Linked DNA regions of Homo sapiens: regions 1 and 2 are each linked to region 3. The links are contacts of gene promoters, found by promoter capture Hi-C in blood cells and fetal thymus (Javierre and others, 2016). All regions are on one chromosome and are shown on one strand. Each heading gives the region's core, a stretch centred on a gene start or on the middle of the fragment in contact. The rest is flanking DNA. Distances are from core to core; before and after follow the strand shown.

The links. The method cuts DNA at HindIII sites, captures the fragments that hold promoters and counts their contacts. A CHiCAGO score of 5 or more calls a contact.
Region 1: a contact is called between a fragment that was not itself captured here and the fragment with the promoter of LINC00957 in region 3, in 1 of 17 cell types (endothelial precursors). The highest score is 5.5, in endothelial precursors.
Region 2: a contact is called between a fragment that was not itself captured here and the fragment with the promoter of LINC00957 in region 3, in 1 of 17 cell types (endothelial precursors). The highest score is 5.9, in endothelial precursors.

Annotation. Positions count from the first base shown.
Region 1 is chr7:44,192,512-44,196,484 of GRCh38, forward strand. No RefSeq gene overlaps it. Among named protein-coding and RNA genes, the nearest start is that of GCK, 5.1 kb to the left of the region's middle. The HindIII fragment of the contact is 3,272 bases long and covers 1,072-3,973 here.
Region 2 is chr7:44,210,586-44,215,078 of GRCh38, forward strand. It overlaps YKT6 (YKT6 vesicular SNARE protein), which reads left to right. Exons shown (of 7, transcript NM_006555.4): 6 at 438-539; 7 at 1,662-3,709. The coding sequence ends at 1,697. Among named protein-coding and RNA genes, the nearest start is that of YKT6, 12 kb to the left of the region's middle. RefSeq lists an enhancer at 3,556-4,471. The HindIII fragment of the contact is 2,069 bases long and covers 946-3,014 here.
Region 3 is chr7:44,037,442-44,041,754 of GRCh38, forward strand. LINC00957 (long intergenic non-protein coding RNA 957) reads left to right here and starts at 1,608. Exons shown (of 3, transcript NR_072982.1): 1 at 1,608-1,708; 2 at 2,453-2,921. It also overlaps the pseudogene RASA4CP. RefSeq lists silencers at 2,894-2,983, 3,074-3,183. The HindIII fragment of the contact is 32,056 bases long and covers 1-4,313 here.

The sequences.
Region 1 (3,973 bases), core at 1,458-3,957, 160 kb after region 3:
GACACTCCTTTGCACCATGCCCGCTTATCTAACTCTATGCTTATTTGGGAATTCCAGGGGCTAATCTTGAAACAAAAACCAGACACGGAACCCCTGCGGAATCCTCCAACTTAGGGGGAGTCGAAACAATTCACCCACCACCATCTGGCCGAAGGAAAGATAACACCAACCAGACCTCAGGATAGGTGATACTCAAGACAGCCATTGGATCAAGACACATAGACCCTGTACCCTGCACTGCTCCCACGTATGTCCCATACCAAGTTTTCCTTTCAGAATCCTATGATAAATTTTAAAATTTGAGATAATTGAATGCTTTAAAACAACAATTCACCATCTTCTTGGTTTGCTGGCTCTAGTTAAAACCACTTTTCCTCCCACCAAACCTCTCCTCTTGTATTTGGCTTTCAAGCGGTGGAATCCGAGTCCGGTTACAATGGGGGACATTTACCCAACAGGGACTGCTTGAAACAATGAGCAGTTTAGTTGGGGACCGCAGAGTTGCAGAATCTCTGAACCATTCAATGCTCCCAAACGAAAGTCCTCTGTCCTCCTCCCTGGGGTGGGGTGGATGGGGCATTCCTGGCTGATGAATTGGGGAGCAGGTGGGGAGAGAGCTGCCCTCCCCAGGTATAGCTTCTTCAGGATGCCCCTTGCCTTTCTGGCCCCATCCCTCCAGACACTGGACACTTCTGCTTCAGCCCCTCCCTCCCCGTCTGCTGGTCCCTGTCCCTCAGCCTGTTGCCTCCTAACTTGACAACTGCTCCCCTCTCTCCCCCGCCACCCTTGGTAGCATCTCTCATTTGCGCCACCTTGCAATTGGTCTCCCCCTGCCCTTTGTCTTGTGTCATTATAGTGGAGCATATTTGGGAGGTGGTTCACATAAACATATGTATTTAATCATCCATGTTAACCCAAAGTTTGTATGTATCCAGCTCGGGGTTCCTTGATCCTCTCCAATCTGTGCCAGTTACTTTGCTTCTCTTTTCTTAAGAGTCGAAGAAAGTCCTGGGCTTTGCTCTGATTGGATGGCCTACTGATGGCCAGCTGAGTGGCCTGTTGATTGGCTGAAGCTTGCATCAGGTGCCTATCCAAAGACCAATCGCTGTGGCAATAAGGACCACTGGTTGATAGGCTGGGGCCTGGGGCCCCATGTGGCAGGGTGTGGGATCAGCCTCTAGTTCATGATGGTTTCCCTGTGAGTACTTTCCCTGTGTGCTCATTGCTGTTGTTTATTAGGTTGTGTTTGGTGTGCCCAGCCTTTCCAAGGGCACACCTTGTGTTCTTGGCCTTCCTCTGCATCCTTCTTTCTGCTCTCATGTGGGGCCTACAGCCCCGAGGATGTGGGAGGTGCACGCCTGGTTGTGGAGCAGGGGACTCCTCTGCAGGCCTTTCCACCTGCCCCTCTTTGACAGCTCTGTAGACTTCCTCTCGCTTTTTGTACGGGGCAACCCCACGACTATCAGGGTACCATTGACAGGACAAGCCACTTGCCTAAATGACCATGTGTCCTAATTCTAAGTTCCTGGCATTCATCCAGTATGGCTACTGATAACTGATATGGTTTGGATATGTGTCCCCACCAAATCTCATCTGAATTGTAATCCCCAATATTGGAGGTGGGGCCTGGTGGGAGGTGTCTGAGTCATGGGGGTGGATCCCTCATGAATGGCTTGGGCCATCCCCTTGGTGATGAGTCAGCTCTTGCTCTGAGTTCACACGAGATCTGGTTGTTTAAAAGTGTGGCACCTCCCAGTGCCTCTCTCTCTCTCACTCCTGCTTCCACTGTGTGATGTGCCTGCTTCCCCTTTGCCTTCCGCCATGACTGTAAGTTTCCTGAGGCCTCCTCAAAGGCTGAGCAGATGCCAGCACCATGCCTCTTGCAAAGCCAGCAGAACTGTGAACCAATGAAACCTCTTTTCTTTATAAATTACCTGGTCTCAGGTATTTCTTTATAGCAATGCAAGAATGGCCTAACACAGCTACATATCCATCTCTAGCCCCTCAGCTGCAGAGGGGTGTCTTAGGACAAATACAGCTTCTGGGAAGCCCCTGCTGGGGCACAGCCTCAAAATCAGGGCACCTGCCTCCTGTCTTCCTTGGCTGTAATCCCTTCCTGCCCACGTATACTCCTGTCCTGTTCCTCCCTTGCTCTGACATCCCCTATTGCTTCGTAGCCAGTGGCAGAGCTCAAACCTTTGGTGGCAGACTCTGTCTGTCTTCCCTGGGGCCTGGAGAACCCAGAGGGAGCCCAGGATGCCTTGGTGTGGGGTTGCAGTGGGGAGCAGTGTTCCTGAGGGCTAGGTGTGCTGACAGACCCTGATTGATGACATCAAGTCTGTGCACCTGAGGCTTGGTGACCTACTCAGGCCATGGAGGCCTGACCACATTGGTGGCCCCTTTCCACACCCTTTTCCTATATGAGCTGTGGAGGCAGCTCAGCTGCCATGGCCTTAGCTGACTGAATGAGGAGGTGTGGGGGCAAGGGCCATTGTGTGGCTGGGCTCCCCACCTGGACTGGGCTTCCTGGGGGTATGCTCCTTGATAGGCTTTTGTCCAGCTCCCCAAAGGTTCTGCTGTACAGCAAGGGCTGGCACCTTATGTGAGCTAGGCAAGGCTGCAAAGGCGGGTGGGTACTTGTTTTGCTCAATGGGGCAAACTTAACAGGGCCTGGGCCATTTATCGTGGACAGCGTTAACTCCAGTTCTGTCTGCAGAGAGGCTTTTCTTCTAGGTCCCAGCACCTCAGGTGGGAGCCTGGACTAGAGAACTCTGCTACCCACACTCCTGTGCGGGCTTCGTTCATAGCCTTACTGCCCATTTCCTGCATTTTCCATTCCCACAATGTTGTACTTGCAGAACAGGTGCAAGAACAATACAAGCATGAGAATCGCTTGAACCTGGGAGGCAGAGGTTGCAGTGAGCGGGATCACACCATTGCACTCCTGCCTGGGCAACAGAGCAAGACCCTGTCACAAAGCAAAACAAACAAACAGATACGCTTCATCCTGATTCCTGTATTTGCTTTATCATTCTCTTTCTCTCTGTCTCTCTCTCTCTCTGTCTCTCTCTCTCTCTCACACACACACACACACACACACACACACACCCTGTAAGAGTAAGTTGCAGACACAATGTCCCTTTACTTCTAAATTCTTGTGTATATTTCCTATAAACAAAGACTTCTCTTATATAACCATGGCACAGTGATGGAAAGCAGGAAATTAAAATAGATACAATACTATTATCTAATCTAGAGGCCTTACTTGGGTTTTAGCCTATCTTCAAATCTCTACTTCCCATAGATGCCTTCCACCCTCTATGATTAATAATCCTTTTCTTCATTAATGAGAAGACAAATAATTATCACTGTTACCTGTTAAACATCAACAATGACTAGAGCTTGTAATATAATGTTTTATTATTTCCAACAACATTCCTATGGAAAGAATATTTTTCTAGTTTTATAGATAAAAACAAAAGGAGACTCAGGGAGGTAATGGTTTGCTCACTTTTGTGATTTTGTGATGTGTCAGTGCTGGGACTGAATCCAAGTTGGGTGACAGCTGGGGCGATGCAGCAGAAGGCAGGTCTTGCTTTTTGGTAACACAGTGAGCTTGGGAAGTCTGCAACCACATGACTATGAATGAGGCTTCCTGGAACAGTAGAGGCTGAGTGAGGCCAGAGAGGAGCAGGAAGAGTTGCCAGGAGTGGGCTGCATGACAGTTTGTTAAGCATTTCACTGTTGACATCTGAACCCCAACTCTGTCCCTTACCAACCATCTCCTTAAATTGAATCTCAGTCTCTATGTCTGTAGGGTGGCAATAATATTTTCCCCTGTTTTTGTGAGGATTAAATGATGTGGCACATGGAAAGTACTTGGCATAAGGTAAACTTTGGGACAGCCACTATAATGTGTCAAGTGGATACACTGAAATTTATTCCATCCAAGCGCTGTCTTCCTGATCTTTTT
Region 2 (4,493 bases), core at 730-3,229, 170 kb after region 3:
GGGGGTGCGGTGTGGGTCACTCTCCAACCCAGTACAATCATATAGTGCCCAGCTACTCTTTTTTCCAAAGCTCCATGCACACGCACATGTGCGTGCACACACACACACACACACAAATGTATATATAAATGTGTGTGTATATATATATATGAGTTTTCCTGGAGTGCTGGTTATCTAAGCCTGTGCTGGGGACAGCTTTTTGGGAAGTCTGCTACATCCCAGTTAGATCTTCTAGATTTCACGGGAATGTCACCAGGTTCTGTTCCATCCACTTGGACAGTAACTATTCTTGGACCGAGTCTCGACACCTAGAGGTGAAGTTTGTGTGTGTTGGAGAGGAACCCAGGTAAGGCACTTTCCCCCATGACTGAAATATGAGGGGCTCATGTCAGGGCACGTACTGAACAGAGCTGGATTCTCTTTTCTTTTTTGTCCAGCACAACACCATGGAGTCTCTGTTAGAGCGAGGTGAGAAGCTAGATGACTTGGTGTCCAAATCCGAGGTGCTGGGAACACAGTCTAAAGCCTTCTATAAAACTGTGAGTACCCAGCACCTGCTGCCTCCTGGGTGTTCTCTCTAGAGAGCAGTCGCAGCTTGCTGCTTCTGGCACTCTCCACTATGAACGGGTCTTTCTTAGACTGTTGAATCATGGTGGATGATTCCTTGTGCGGCAAGAGCCTAAGGTGAGCGCCTCAGGCCCAGGTGGTTGGAGGCAGTTCACTTGGGCGCCGTTGGAGTCGATGCGGGCCGAGGCCTTGTTCCACTCCTGCCTCTGCTCTGCCCTCTGCTGCTCTGGCTGATTTCTGAACTCCTACTCCCAGTCCAGGAAGGCTGGTTCAAGTTCTGATCACCAGAGATTTACTGTTGAATCTTATTCCTCTTTCTGCTGAGTAGACATAAGTCTTTAAGATGCAAGCAATTCAGCCTTCCTGAAGAGGTTCTTAAGCTTTTAATTTCCCTTTGACAGAAAATATTTAATTGACAAGGATGGGTGCTGCTGACTGCCGCTTTCTCTCAGGTCAGTGCTCATGTCTTCCTATGTGGAGATGGCACTGTTGGCCCATGGTTGGATAGTCATAGGGACAAATTTACTTGGTCTGTCCACACACATTTGCTTTCATGTGCACATTGGAGGGAGATGGCTAGGTGGGATTAGGAAGATAGTCTGTGACCAGAAAGCAAGAGAGAAGGTGGCAACAGTGGTCCCCACAAACCACATCCCAAGTGGGAACCACATCTGTTGTCCTCAGGACCATCTTCTAGGAAGAAACACCACCGTGGTGGTCAGATAGCATTGTGTGAAGACAGGAGTGGGGCAAAGTTAAGATATTCTGCCAATCCCATTTGTATTATTGGTCCTTTGTTTGTACCTGGCCTAACTGTAGGAATTTTACTCACTTTTTGATAGCATTAATGGGGTGTGAGAAAAGAAAGGAAAAAGGATCCCAGACTAGTTTTGGAAGCCGGGGCCCGCCTTGTGCTTGGTGATGGGAATTGCTTGTGGACAGCTTCCCTCAAGGCCTCCACCCCCACCCTGTTCTAGTGCTAGTTTCTCTGCCTGGCTGTGTCCTGTGGAGCTCCCTCTGCCACGCCTGCCAGGATTGGGGCTTCCCTTACTTCGTCAGTCCTCCTTCTCAGCTCCTCTTTGTTTTTTTCCAAGGCCCGGAAACAAAACTCATGCTGTGCCATCATGTGATGCAGCCTGCCAGAGGCCCAATGCTGGAATGGCACCATCATTCACATCAGAACTGCAGCCCCTGGAAAAGAAGAGACAGCCATAGACGAGGAGCCAGAGTGGGGGCAGACTGGCCATTTTTATTTTGAAGTTCCTGCGAGAAATGGATGGTGGAAGGGTGGCGAATGTTCAAATTCATATGTGTGGTAGTGATTCTTGGAAAGAATTTGAGGTCCCCAAAGGTGTATTTTTGGGCAAATGAAACCATAAACTCCGACTGGCTTCTGTAGATGCCAAAGGGCTCTTTTTCAGCTAACCCTGGGAAGGCTCTGTGGGAGGGAGGTCGGAGCCAGCTGTTTCTCGATCTTTGGTATATCTTTGGATCTTATTTGTACATTAATGATATTAACACTCCAGTGGGGGGTGGGGAGTCCCTGATGCTAGGGCTGGGGTGGGTGGAGTTTGAAGACTCTTGGGAAAGCCTCTCCTGGGGCCACTGTTGGGGGTGGGAGTGAGCCCACCACAGAGGCCACAGGCAGGCCCCCACTTCAGGCCCAAGGCCTGGGGCGGGGGGAACAGTCACTGGGTCTCAGATTCTGAGACTGTTGTTTAGCTTACCTTTCTGCTAGGATTGGCTTCCCGCAGAGGGCAGGGCCCATCCTAAGCAGCTTCCAAGTCCCACAAAGGTGGCTTGTGGGAGGATTTGGAAGGAGCTGCATTGTGGGCGGGGAGTGTGTGGGTTGGGTTCGTACCAGCAAGTAGACTAGGAACTGAGCCCAGGAAAGGGGGATGTTTTCCTGGTGTTTGGATGGTCAGCTGGGAGTGTCCATCATCAGGGGAAGATCAAACACAGGTGCACTCAGCTGCCCAGGGCCTCTGGGACACTTGCCTTGACTTGCAACTTGCCTTGAACATCACGATCAAAGCAGCAGGTGCTGTGGTCTCTCAAAATTGATTTTTATTTGACTCTGTGGCTCTAAGACTGCCTTGAACCGCCTGAGGCCTATGCATCTGAACAAGTGGGTCTCTCCCTTGAGCACCAGGAGTGGGTGCCAGCCGGCCCCGAGGATTCCCAGCACCCCACCTATGGTCTTGCCAGCATAGGCTTGCTAGTTCCTTCTTGGTCAGAGGTAGCTGCAGAGGGGGGAGGCCAAGGGTTTGGTCTAAGCTGTGCCCTGCCACCTGGCAGGAGGCCCACTCACTGCCCAAGTCATGGCAACAGGCTGGAGCAGCCCAGGAGATGGGCCTAAAATGTTCTGGATCCCTTGGGTCCTAGTGTTATGTTCCAGTCTGCCCACCTGTGCTCAGGATGCAGCCCTGGGATCCAGCACCCATGGAAGCTTCTGCTGGGATGGTGTCACCTATGGGTTTTGAACCAGTGTGGTATGGTCCTTGGGAGCTCTGCTCTGAGCTTGCCACACTGCTGAGAGCACCCACTGTCCTGACCAGAGTCTCAGTGGTCCTGACCCCCAATGTGGGCAGGGGCTGGGCAGGAGGGTGGGGTCTGCTGTGGGTTCAGAGGACTCCACCTCCTGGCTGGTTTACCTGCTGCTGCCCATTTTCTCTGGGTACTGCTGGCCAGAGGACTTTAGCCTACCCCTGAAGAGCCTGTCCATGTCATTTTCCTACTGCCATAGATACCCTAAGCCCAGGGCCCCTTGAGGCCCAGACTCAGCCTGCCCACTGGTGCCGGAGACGGAGTGGAGTGGGCCTGGATCCGAGGGATGCTACCTCTCCCTTTCCCACTTGAGGACCCTGGGGAGAGATGGGGGCGGGGAAAATGGAGGTATGAATTTGGGGTAAGAGGAAGTGAGATCTCCGCTTGCAGGTCAGCCCCTGCCTTGCAGGGCGGGCTGGCTTGACTCAGGCCCTGTGAGATAGAGGGCCCAGCCCAGCCCCACCCACAGATCCCCTGCTCCTGTTGTGTTCTGTTGTAAATCATTTGGCGAGACTGTATTTTAGTAACTGCTGCCTAACTTCCCTGTGTTCTATTTGAGAGGCGCCTGTCTGGATAAAGTTGTCTTGAAATTTCACAGTGGTCCTGTGCTTTCTTTGTGCTTCAGGGGAATCCTTTCTTCACCAAGCCCTTCCCCCGGGGGAGAGAGTGGCCTCATGCTGTGTGCCTGTGGGCCTGCCGCATGCAAGGGTCCAAGTTATCCTGACCAGCTCCTGTCCAGGAGAGGTAGCTGCAGGCCTGACTCCTTCACCTCCTTTCTATAGACCTTGCTAGCAGGAACTGTATTTTCTTTTTTGCTGTTAACCAGGTGAGGGAGCCCTGGAGTAGAAGAAGCCCTGTCATTGCTGAATCCTGTTGCCTGGTCTTAGCTGCAGCCAGGAGACCCACCCTAGGAAAGCTGCCTCATAGCTGCAGAGCCATGGGACAGGAGGCCCCATCCCCATCCTGATCCCGCTGTAGGCTTCCTGTCCCTCACCGCTGACCCCAGGGTCAATCTGAGACCACCTGGCATCCCACCAAGCACAGGTGGCAACTTTTCAGGAGCAGAGGGGGCTCCACAGGGTACCTGGAAGCTTCCTGGTTCCTGGAGGAGCCAAAGCTGACCCCTGCTTTGGTTGGGAGGTGAACCAGGGGTAAGTCAAATTCAAGTCTCACATCTGGTTTTGAGTTCAGGGAACCCTCTGAAGCCTCTGTAGCCTCCCAGGGAGGCGGGCCCAAGGCTGCTTTCAGCCTGTACTTCTGATCCTGGAAGGCAGAGACCTCTCTGACTGGCCCAGCAAGCAGCCTTGGGCAGTGCTCAGCTTTTCCTGTTCTGAGGACCTGCCAGACCTGGGTTGGGGTGGGATGGGGTAACCCTTAGG
Region 3 (4,313 bases), core at 358-2,857:
AAACTCCATCTCAAAAAAAAAAAAAAAAATGGGACCAGAATTAAATAATGCCCATGTAGTCAAATCTTTCAACCCTGGCAAGGAAGATGTATAATAATCATCTGAGTGCTTTGGGAGGCTGGGGCAGGAGGATTGCCTGAGGCCAGGAGTTTGAGAACAGCCTGGGCAGCATAGCAAGACCCCATCTCTGCAAAAAAAAAATGTTAAAGAAAATTAGCTGGGCTTGGTGGCACGTGCCTGTAGTCCCAGCTACTCAGGAGGCTGAGGCAGGAAGATTGCTTGAGCCCAGGAGTTTGAGGCTGCAGTCAGCTATGATCGCACCACTGCACTACAGTCTGGGTGACAGAGCAAGACCCTGTCTCAAAAAATAATTATCATCATCTGAGGGGTCTTTGGTCGGAAGGGGCGGGCCCCTCATCTGGTGGGACCCCTGAGCTGGTTGAGAACAGGGTGGGTGATGAGCTCCTTCACCTACTCCTAGCCTGCTCTCACCTGCCCAGGGCTAGGCTGGGTACTCCTGGAAGATCATCCCCATAGCCTGCATGACTAGGGGCAGGTGTACAGCAAGCAGTCACCAGGTCCATGGAGGAAGTATGTCCTCAGCCCTTCCTGGGAGAAGAGAGCTTGCAGGAGAGGTGACCCATGACTCAGAGAGGGCTGTACAAGGTGATCTTTGAGATCCCCTCCCACACCAAGATTCCATGCTTCTATATTCCTGCCCGTTCCAGGAAGCCTCCCCTGTTTGCCCTAGCCTCCTACTCATCTAGCAGCCCAGGTGATGTACTATCTTTAATAATACCATTTGCCTAAATAGTACTACCTGCCAGGCCCTGGGTCAGGACCCTTAGGGAGATCATCTCATTTAATCCTCAACAACCTGGTAAGGTCGGATCAACTTCCTCCATATTCATTTTTTTTTTTGAGACGGAGTCTTGCTCTGTTGCCCAGGTTGGAGTGCAGTGGCACGATCTCGGCTCACTGCAACTTCTGCCTCCCGGGTTCAAGCGATTCCCGTGCCTCAGGCTCCCGAGTAGCTGGGACTACAGGCACCCACCACCACACCCGGCTGATTTTTTGTATTTTTAGTAGAGACGGGGTTTCTCCATGTTGGCCAGGCTGGTCTCAAACTCCTAACCTCAAGTGATCCACCCGCCTTGGCCTCCCAAAGTCCTGGGATTACAGGCGTGAGCCACCGTGCCCGGCCCTCCTAGGTTCTGACAAGCAGTACAGATGCCACACACCTGGCTTTCTTCTCTGACCCCGGGGGTACCTCAAGTGGGCTCCAAGGAAGGGGACAGGTGCCTCTAAGGTGCCCCACTTGCCGGCCTCTCAGAGCCCCACTTGCCGGCCTCCCTCCTTACCCACCTTGGAGCTGGGCGTCTTCGCGAAGCTGAGGGCCTCGGTAGTGAGGGAGAAGTAGAGCTTCTTGAAGGAGGAGGACATGAGGGGGCCCTTGCCCTTGGTCCTGTGGATGAAGAGTGGCCCCTCCTTCACAGGTGGCGCCTGCAAACTCAGCGTCCGCTGCAGGTCCAGCTCTGCCAGGCCAGGGAGGGAGGGGAATAGAGAGCCCAGGGAATGAGGGCGGGACTGGGGGGGGGGGGCGGAGCAGTGGGCGGGGCCATGGGGCTCAAGGGCTGAGCAAATCTGAACAGCAGGCAGTGGACGTAGTCATGGGGCTCAAGGGCGGAGCAAACATCAACAGCTGGTGGTGAGCGGGGTGACAGGTGGACTGAGGAAGGCAGGGCCATGGGCTTGGAGGCGGGACACGCGTCAGTAGCAGGTGGCGGCGGGGCTATGGAGCTCAAGGATGGAGCAAATGTCAACAGGCACAGATGATGGGAGGTGAGGCCATGGGTCTAGGGGTGGGGCAAACGTCAACAGCAGGCAGTGGGCAGGGTCACAGGAAGCACAAACAGTGGTGCGTGGGTCTATGGCCTGGGGGCCTGGCAAATGTCAACAGCAGGCGGTGGGTGGGGCCACGAGAGGAACAAACAGCGGTGGGTGGGGCCGTGGGGCTCAAGGGCGGAGCAAACGTCAGCAGTAGGCTGTGGGCGGGTCTGTGCAGGGCGGCGCTCACCGTCCTTCTCCTCGATGTCCACGAGCTTGGTGATGAAGTCCTTCAGCTGCGCCACGCCCTGGCGCACGGTGGGCTGCAGCGGCTCCATCCAAGCCTCCTTGGCCCTGGAAGCCGGCGTGTCCATGTTGCCCACGTTCTGGACTGCCTGGAGGTGACAGCAGGAAGGACCAGGTTCTGCTAGGTTAGGGGCCTAGCCACTGCACCCCCTCCCACCCCCCCTCCCCAAGTCTTTGCTACTCAGCTGTAGCGATGGAGGCAGAGGCGACAGAGGCCATGCCCACGGGCCCCCTCCAGCCCCACTAGGGATCAGGGAGGAGAGGATCATGAAGTTTGATGCCTTATGATAACTGAGACCACTTGGGCCTTCCTCTGTAGGTTTAACTGACGCTGCTGCACTGGATACCCCACCCCGGTGCCGGGCACATAGGTGCAGCCTGAGAGTAAGCAGACCTGGGTTGGAAGGTCCCGCGATTCACCACCGACAGGATGGGCGGCCTTGGCAACCCCCGACCCCTCGCAGGCCTGTTCCCTTATCCATGAGATGGAACTCGGACAAGGTGGCCACAGGAAGGCTTTGCAAACTGTGAAGTGCAGTGCCTACGTGGGCGTGCCAGTGGCCTCGCCGGAGCCGGTAGGGAACACTCTGCAGTCCAGGCCAGGGCCCCGGTAGGACACCCAGCTGTGCATCCCGCCCGTGGCCGCAAGGCCCGCACCTTGGCCAACAGGAGCAGGGTGCGGCTGGTGCGGGCGTCCGCGTGGCGCTCCCGCAGGTGGAAGAGCTTGGGCGACATGATGGCGGGAGAGAAGAAGCGCAGGCACAGGAAGCTGGTGACGGCGATGAACGGTACATTCTGGAGGGGTGCGGAAGAGCGCGGGCTGGAGTCCCCCAGACCAGGGCTCCTGGCAGCCCCCTCCCCTTAGGCTCCGTCCCTGACCCTCGCCGGGACACAGCCTCCCTGGTCCTCCCCAGCGCTCCCTGGTTCCCCACCGCTCTTCGCCCGCCCCTCGCCCCAGCCCAGTCCAACCCGGCCCAGCCTAGCCCAGCGGGTGGAGGGCGCACCTCGTGCTGGGCGCCGGGGAAGCGCTCGCGCACGCGCCGGAAGAGCTGGCGGAAGGTGGCGCGCACCACGGCGGGGCACGCGGGAACCGAGCGGCTGAGCGCGCTCAGCAGGGCCCCCAGGTGGGCGCGCAGCGTCTGCGCGCTCTGCTCCAGCACCTCGGCCTCGGTCTGCGGGCGGTGCAGCCCGGAACACCTGCGTGGAACGGGGCGGGTTGGCAGAGGAGGTCACGGTCAGCGCCAGGGCCACGACAGGAACAGTGGCTCTCACAGCAGCCGGGACACGGACACAGGGGACAATACACGGGTGGGCAGAAGCACAAACACACATGCTGACAGGGCCTGATCCCAACCCGCTGCCGCTGCGCCCCGCACCCCCCCGGAGTTACCCCCGGCCTCACCCTACATCCTTAACTTCCACTTTGCTGGGGTCCAGCTCCACGTACTTCTCCTCAAACACCTTGTTGATGATGGGGCCCAGGACGCCGTGCAGGTACTGCATCCCGGCCACCTGGGGACCACCGCAGGTCACATTGATCCTGTCTCCCCCAGTCCCACTCCAGCTGCCCACCTTCTCCCGGCAGCCGCCCTTGCACCGTTTGCCTGCCGTATCCGCCCAGGAGGGGGACAGGTACACAAGCAGGGCAAACTGTTTATTCATGAATGAATGAATGAGTGAGTGAATGAATGACTAGAATTCTTAGCCCTTGTAATCCTAGCACTTTGGGAGGCCGAGGCAGGAGGATCACTTGAGGCCAGGAGTTTGAGACCAGCCTGGGCAACATAGTGAGACTGTCTCTAACTTAAATTTTAATCACACACACATTCTTTTGGGGGGGGGGGGTGCGGGGCACGGAGTCTAGCACGGGGCCCAGGCTAGAGTGCAGTGGCGTGAGCTCACTACAATCTCTGGCTTCTGGTTCAAGTGAGTCTCCTGCCTCAGCCTCCCCAGTAGCTGGGATCACAGGTGCCCACCACCATGCCAGGCTAATTTTTGTATTTTTAGTAGAGATGGGGTTTCGCCATGTTGGCCAGGCTGGTCTCGAACTCCTGACCTTAAGTGATCCGCCCGCCTCAGCCTCCCAAAGTGCTGGAATTACAGGCATGAGCCACTATGCCCAGCCACATTCTTAACCTTAAAGGGCTCTCAATATGGAGATAGAACACTGGAGTCGAAGT